Regions from separate parts of the Homo sapiens genome. Here region 1 is linked to region 2. Evidence: promoter capture Hi-C in human tissues and cell types (Jung and others, 2019). All regions are on one chromosome and are shown on one strand. Each heading gives the region's core, a stretch centred on a gene start or on the middle of the fragment in contact. The rest is flanking DNA. Distances are from core to core; before and after follow the strand shown.

What was found. The method cuts DNA at HindIII sites, captures the fragments that hold promoters and counts their contacts. A contact is called where the count stands out against the background at its distance.
Region 1: a fragment that was not itself captured here is called in contact with the fragment with the promoter of IGIP in region 2 in 1 of the 25 tissues and cell types used here (spleen).

The regions. Positions count from the first base shown.
Region 1 is chr5:138,648,033-138,651,638 of GRCh38, forward strand. No RefSeq gene overlaps it. Among named protein-coding and RNA genes, the nearest start is that of HSPA9, 74 kb to the left of the region's middle. RefSeq lists an enhancer at 2,460-3,258. The HindIII fragment of the contact is 3,444 bases long and covers 303-3,606 here.
Region 2 is chr5:140,123,354-140,127,438 of GRCh38, forward strand. IGIP (IgA inducing protein) reads left to right here and starts at 2,584. Exons shown (of 1, transcript NM_001007189.2): 1 at 2,584-4,085. It overlaps PURA (purine rich element binding protein A), which reads left to right. Exons shown (of 1, transcript NM_005859.5): 1 at 1-2,266. The HindIII fragment of the contact is 10,247 bases long and covers 1-4,085 here.

The DNA of each region.
Region 1 (3,606 bases), core at 775-3,274, 1.5 Mb before region 2:
CGGCATGCCTGCCTCCTTGGTCTTTAAGCTGGGTCTCTTGGTACCATGCCTGCCTTGCACTGTCCCCGTTCCTTGTGAATCCCAGGGTCCTAGAAGCTTACCCCTCTCTGCAGGGACCACCCTCAGAGACTTTCCACCAGAAGATTATGCTAATATCCACAACAGCTGATGTTTATTGAGTATTCACTGCATGCCAGGCTGTGCTAGAGGCCAGAGTGCTCCGGCTTGGGGAGACGTGGCTGCCTCTCTGCAGCAGGTGAAGGAGCTTTTCCAGTGAGGGAGCCCCTGCATGCTGCAGACTCTGCCTGAAATCTCTCCGAAACCTTTGGGAGATTGGTATCACTTATCTTCTCTGACCAATGAGAACAGTTCCTGGTTTTGTGATCTCCCAAGTCCCTGGTGTGGATGTTCTGTGAGCTTCTGAATTCTCCTCTCCTTTCCCCACTGACAACTCACCTGGCCCTACACTCATTATGAAAGAATATTGAGGCCAATTAGCCTTGACAAGCTTCATGCCCAAGGGGCAGCTTTCAAGTTTCTGGTCCTCTAAGACCTGCTCAGGCCACCTATGTGTCTCTGCCCACTCAGAATTCTAGGAGCAGCTCCCCTCTCCATCTCTGGGCAGGACCTGGCTTTGAGTAAGGGCTAGAGTGAAGGAGACTGGGAGAGGGGAATAGCCAGCTTTAGCCTCACAGCCCCGTAGTCAAGGGGAGTCCTCTGGGAGGGCGAGAAGAATAGCAAAGCAGGGAATGGAAGGTTCAGGAAGAGGCAGGCGGGACAGGGAAGGGAAATGGAGAATGTGTTTCCAACATCCCCTGGGTTTCCTCTGTCCCTGTCTCCTTCCCCCACTGAAAGAGGAATGGAGCTGGCTGGCCTTTCTGGGAGGCATAGTCCTCTAGCCTCCCAACCCTACCAGCCTCCTCTCTGTCCCCAACTGCTCCTTCTCTGGCTTCTCTCCAGAGCCCAGGGCCTCCCTGTGTCATCAGTTCATTATCATTCTGATAAAAGTCATTAGTCCTTGAAAAAGCATGATTCCCCAGCTGAGGCCAGCCCCCGCTAACCTGGGGAGGAATACAGATGGATGGAGATGTGGGGGTGGGGACAGACAGAGGCACAAACACAATGACACTTGTTTCCAGGAGGTGTGTAAATGGACACAAACCCACTGGTGCACACGGCCACACACCTTTACACACAGGCCCAGGGATGTCTCACATGGTCACCAGAGAGCCCACAGGGCTACATCACTGGAGGCACACTCAGCTGCTTCCAGTCCCAGAGAATCACTCGACACTGAGACCCAGCACCCAGCAGCCTCAGCCTCCTGGAAACACAGAAGCTGGGCTCCGCAGACTCTGGGGGCGGGGGCAGGGAGTGGAATATGGAGGCCAAGGTTAGAGATCTCCGAGTTCCATTAGCCACAAGAAGCGTGTCCGGAATCTAAAAGTGCAGGGACAAGGGCGCTGCAGAGCCGGTTCCTGACAGTGTGTCCCCATTTCCCACCCCTTCCACCACTGGGAAGCTCCTCCCTGTCAGCAAAGCCATTTAGGGATTAGAGCAGCTCCCTCAGTAAAAGCTGCTTATTCAAAAGGTGCTTTCAGTTCATTTGCATTCACTTCATGGATATTATAATGCGTGGAGGAGCTTCCTCCTCAGTCCCTCTTTGCTGTCCCCAGATTGAGTCCCTGGCCCATGCAAGGTATCAGTTTGGGCTGGGCCAAGCTTTCCAGTGACCTGGGGATCTTGTCAGGGAGTGGGAGGTGATAAACACTGACCATTAACCCCTGGTCCTCAGAAGGCAGCTCCGGGGACAGCTAGGAGGGGTCACAACTGGAGTTTTCCCAAGGGAGAGGAAGGAGGCCAAGGTCTGGAGAGGCCTCTCAATTCCCCCGGGGTCATAAGCCTGGTCTCCTAGGGAAGGAGGAATCTGCCCAGCTGCTGTCTGCAGATGGGGCTGCCACAGGGGAGCAGGCAGAGTCAGCCTCAGCTTTGAAGACCTTCTCTTTGGCAGCCACCCCACCCCGGCTCCATGCATTCAGTTCATTCAAAGAGTATTTAACTAACACCATGATGTGTGAAGCTTGATGCTAAGTAACTGGAATACAGTGTTGACCAGGCAATGTGGCCCCTGCCTTCACAGAGCTTCCACTCCAGGAGTGAAAACCCACAAAAAATGAAGACACAAGACAATATGGAATAATATGAATTATACCTAGTACCATAACAAACAGGGCGCTAAGATAGAAAGTAATAGGTCAGGGCCGGGGGACCGTCTTCAGATGGGGTGATCAGTAAATGGTGGACACATAACACACCTGCAGTTGAGGCTTCAGGGAGCCAGCTTCGCACGACTGCACTCCAGCCGGGGCAACTCTGTCTCCTAAAAAAGAAAAAAAAAAAAAGGAAGAAAGAAAAATTTCTTTCTTTCTGTGTGTGTGTGTGTGTGTGTGTGGTTTTTTTTTTTTTTTTTGAGACAGAGTTTTGATCTGTCACTCAGGCTGGAATGCAGTGGCACAATCTCGGCTCACTGCAACCTCCTCCTCTGGGTTTTAGGAGATTCTCCTGCCTCAGCCTCCCAAGTAGCTGGGATTACAGGCATATGGCACCATGCCTCGATAATTTTTGTATTTTTAGTAGAGACAGGGTTTCACCAGGTGATCCGCCTGCCTCGGTCTCCCAAAGTGCTGGGATTACAGGCATGAGCCACAATGCCTGGCCAAGAATTTCTTTCTTGATTTGTCCTTTTATCACCTCAAAGGTGCATCATGGGATTTCCCATCCCAGCTCAGGGGAAAGGCATGGCTGTGCCTCTTCATCCCCAGATCAGCCTATGGCGAGGCTGCCGTCTTTTGGACACTCCAGTGAACGTGCCCACCTGCCTGCTCTGGCACATCTGACAAGGCTGGAAAGAAGTTGCCATTTTCGGGGAGGGGTCAGTTTCAATGCCTTCCCACCAATTGGTCCGGAGCATGTCCACAGTTCTGTACACTGGGGAGCATCCAGTTCAGGCTTGGCTGAGTCAGGCAGATCCAGAGCTGCCCACCCCTCTCCCCAGGCCAGGGCTCCAGAGACCCTAGAGCCATTTCCAGCTTCCCTGCTGCTCCTCTCACCATCAATCAGGGGCTGGGATGTCAGAATCAGGACTGGGGGAAGCCACTCACATCCTGAACCACCCCCCAGGGACATAGGAATATGAGGCGAGGATCCTGAGCTCGAACATTTACAGGTAGCATTCAGGATTGAAAACTGATTTATAGTCTGAAGGCAGGCAGGAGGGAGCGGGAGGAAGGTGGGAGCTCTGTGTACAGTGCAGCCTTGTGGGGCGGCGGTAATTATATATTACGTTGAACTGTCCTTGCAGCACGGTGAAGGGCAGTGGGAATGAGACTCTAAATCACGCTTCCGTGATGCTCCCCATAGCTCACCTCCCTGTATGTGGCCCCAGAGGCCAGGGCTGACACTTCTCCCTTCTCCCCAGCCCCAGCACCACCGCCTGCCCCCACCCCCACACACACAGAGCCCAGTGGCAGGGCCAGCCTGACTGACTGGGGGAGAGCAGGAAGATGGGATGTGAGCAACTCTGGCAGCTTCCAGGGGCTGCTCATC
Region 2 (4,085 bases), core at 1,334-3,833:
GTAAAAGTGCAAAAGCAGGAAAGACTAAAGTTGCCTGTAAAATTTCTAGTTTTCATTATTTGCACTATTTATCTTTGCACTTGATTTTTTGAAAGTTAAGGCTAGTCACTTTCACTTTTGTTTCTAGTCTTTTCTAATTTCTTGCAGAATTGTGTTTTCAATATTCCACCCAAAGCAAAAATTATATGCAATTAAAAATATTTTATAAGGCCAAGAAAATATTTCTTAATGTTAGCTGTATAAAACAAAAATTTGTTCTGATAAAATTTTTAATATGGGCCTTTATTTGCCAATAAAATCCTTTGTAAATGTGAGCTTTATTAAACTGTTTAAATAGACAAAGTTAAAGCTTAGGATAGGGAATATATATGTATGTGTATATGAAATGATGTCTTCGAGTTTTAACTTCCAGCCTGAGATGGCCTAGATTTGGTGTGTTAGTTTGTTTCACTGAAGTCAGTGAGATAGGAGTCTAGCTGGGTACATGCTTAAAAAGCTGGAAGTGAAGTGGGTGGCAAGTGGCAGCTCCCTCTTTCATGTAGTTTTCCATAATGTTCATATAGTTTCCTTATGGTCTAAGTGTTACAACTGGTTTTCAAGTTGTTATATTGAATATTCCTTTTTGGAATTCAGGGTTGAATCACTTTGAGGGGGAAGGGAAGCAAGGGCAAGAGACTTTATTTTAACCAGATGCGGTCTTATGACCTCAAAGATGTGCTCTAGAAAGAAAATAACAAAAAGTGTACCTGTGAACATATTTTTTGTCTTGGTGATATTATGCAACACAGTGTTCAGAATTGCAAAAAAATTTAAAAATTGATAGTTTTATCAATGGAACAGAGAGATGTGTTTTTGGCTAAAATTATTTTTTGTAAGTTATTTGGTTATTTCATTTTATATTCCCTTTCCCATAGCTTTGTACACACCTCATACTTAAAACCAAGTGAGAGGCCTCTTTTCAGATCTGGTTTATTTTTGGAATGCCTGAGTGTGTTTCCAGATTGGGGGGGGAGAGGTGGTGTTTTACTTTTTGACATGCTCTTAGCATGTTTTGCTAGTCATTCTGGATCTTATGTTTGCAAATTCTGTTGAACATTCAGTGATGTATTTGAAATGAGAAAGTCCTTTATAACATAGTGTGAATGTTTGTGGCCAATTCAATTGTGGAATCTTATGGCTTTGTTTTTACTTTGGGTAGAAGTTTAACTTCCATTGTTCAGATTTTAGGTTTATCTAGTGAAATTGTGCCAGGTAGTTGTCTAAATATGGACCAATTTTGGGAAATGAAGATTAATAAGTGTATATTTGATTCTAGATAATCCTTTACTCAAAATCATAAGTTAAAGATTCACATCATTAAGAGTTATCTAACTTTTATGTTGTCAAATCTTTAAATGTGGATGATATTCAGCATTCTATCTATGAATTTCCTTTAGGAAAAGAGAAAAATTCAGTCTCCAAACCTTTTCTTGGAGACAAAATTTACCACATATCGAAAATGAAAAAAATTTAGAAAGCGATTTGATTATTTTTTAATGGAGTTTAACCAGCTTAATTAATGATTTTTCCAGTTTGAAGCACTTATTTTCCCAATGTGAATAAAGGGAAAAGATCAGCAATTTGTCCCTGGCCTTTTTCGAGGCCATTTTTAGTTTTCTGCCCCCATTTCCCAGTCCTGGTATAAAATGAATTACGGGTATCCCTCTAAGTCCCTATAACCCTTTTTGGGGGTCACAGATATCTTTGATAATCTGATGACAGTGTGATGGATCCTCTACCCAAGAAAAAAAAAATGCCCATCCCTGGATAATTTTGCATACAACTTCAGGGGCATCACACATCTTCTGAAACCCAAGTTAAAGATCTCTGCTCTAAGTAAATTGTAGAGAATTTTAGTGCAAATCGTTGATAAAATTAGGAACCAACTATTGGCTTAAAACCTTTCATATTGGAATTATTGTTAGATGGTGGCCCCTACTAGCAAAATGTGACATTGCAACCAGCTTCGTTAGACATTATAACAACCAGAGAGAAGGGAAAAAAGCAAAGTTCTGAAAGCTATTTATAAGGAGTCAGGGCATCTCTAGACATGGGAGCCTTCCTGGTTCAAGGCAGGGGTCAGGGTGCCTGACAATTTCTAGCAGGGTAGAGTTTGATAAACCACAATGCTCAGGATGCCAAGGGGTTAGCCATTATCTTAACCCCTTCCTCACCAAAAGATTTTAGTTTTGTCTGTTGGGAAACAAGATGTCACTAGGGAAAAAAAGATTTGCCTTACAACTTTGCTGGAACACATCAGTTTGGTGACGTTGGGACACTAGTGTTATTTTTGAGAAGGCGCATAAAACCAAAGTAAATTATTCTCTATGTAGAACATTTATTTACTAGTAACATTTGTTTGCGTGTATTCGCTTTGACAATTTTTACCAGTAAATATTGGTTTTATTTAAAACTGGGAATCCAGTTGATATATAGGATAGTTGATACATCTGTTCTTTCCCCCATGTAAAGCATAGTTAAAAGATTTATGCATACTTTTTACTTTTCTCTCTTAATGCCATGGGGTGGGGAGGGTGGGTGGGGGAAAGATTTTTGAGTCTACAACTGACAAAATGTCTTCTTCAAATTAAAAAAAATTGAGAAGCAGCACTTTAAGTCTAACTCTACACCATTTTATTGCATGTATTAGTTTTATTAATGATTTTTGGTGCATGCCTTTGGGCTTATTCAAAAGTGTACAATAGGAAAGTATATTTCCTTTCTTAGAAAGGAGATGTTTTCTACTTTGCAACATGTGATTACAAAAATCTTCCTCTGTGGGAAGATTAACCATGTATTGAACTACTGAAAAGTATATATTTTTAGATATACAGAAGGAATCTACATGGAGCAGCATTCAGACCTATATAGAAGTCATAGCATTCTGTATAGGACCAAAAAGGAAATAACATTAAACACTTAAACAGACGTTGTTGGGTAGAAATACCTTTAGATCTTGCATTTACTTCCAAAAAGAAAAAATGCCACAGAAGTTTGCTGAAAACTTTTGTCGTTTGAATTTTCTCTGTCAGTGTATTTAGCCCAAATACAACAGCTTTGGGTTAGCACACACATAAGAATCAAAAAAACAAAGCTCACTAAATAAATCAGTCTGGTTTGCCAATCCAGCTTGACTGAAATAAGTAAACCAATCACTTGCAACATGAAAAACTGTCCAACTCCTCTAAGGTTCTGACAAAATAACCTTGGCTGATGTGGGAAGACTCCCACTTTGATTACTGACCTGACAGTGAAGATTCATGCTTGACATGATTTCAGACTTGACAATGTCTGTTTAAGGAGCTATGGTACAGTTTGCTAATTCAATCCCAGATACCTGTTGATTACCTGTGAGATCTAGAGTCCAAAGTAGCCAGCAGCCATATCCCTGAGTGCTCTGTGCCCATCAGATATCTTAAAGTAAGCAGGGTTGGGACAGGTCACAGCTTGGATGATTGACCTCAGGTGCCGTAGACAGCCCCAGATTCAAGAATTGTATCTGCTTTCTTGGCAGTCGTCACTGAACTAATGTCCCATACTGTGTTACTTACTGTAGATGCTCTCTTTTAGAGGAGGCCCAGAGCACACATCCTAATCGCTAGCGGTACTCAGAGAGGGGGTGCTAACTCTGATGCCCTGGCCAAATTCCAGTTTAGGGATGTGGGTCTTCTTCTTGTCATTCTAATTGGAAATGTGCATCACTTCCCATTTTTCTTACTGATCTCAGTGCAAACTACACTAGTCTGTTTCTTTGCCCTGGTCTCAAGTCTCTAAGACGCTGGTGTGTATTATGTGGGCTAAGTTCATGTGTTATCCTAAGGCACAAGAGTTGAGGAATGGGTGAGCTTGGTGTCAGAGCACTGTGTGGTTGGAGGGTGGACTCTTGTGATGCTGTGGGGATGAAATTGGCCCTCTTTTAGCATAAGTTGGGGAGTGTGCACTGGCTGGAGGCTTCCAGAGGCTTCCAGCCATGAGGTGTGAGCTGAAACCAATTTTTCCTCTTTCCTTATAGCATGTTGAGAAAATCTGTTGGGTTTTCAGCAGTC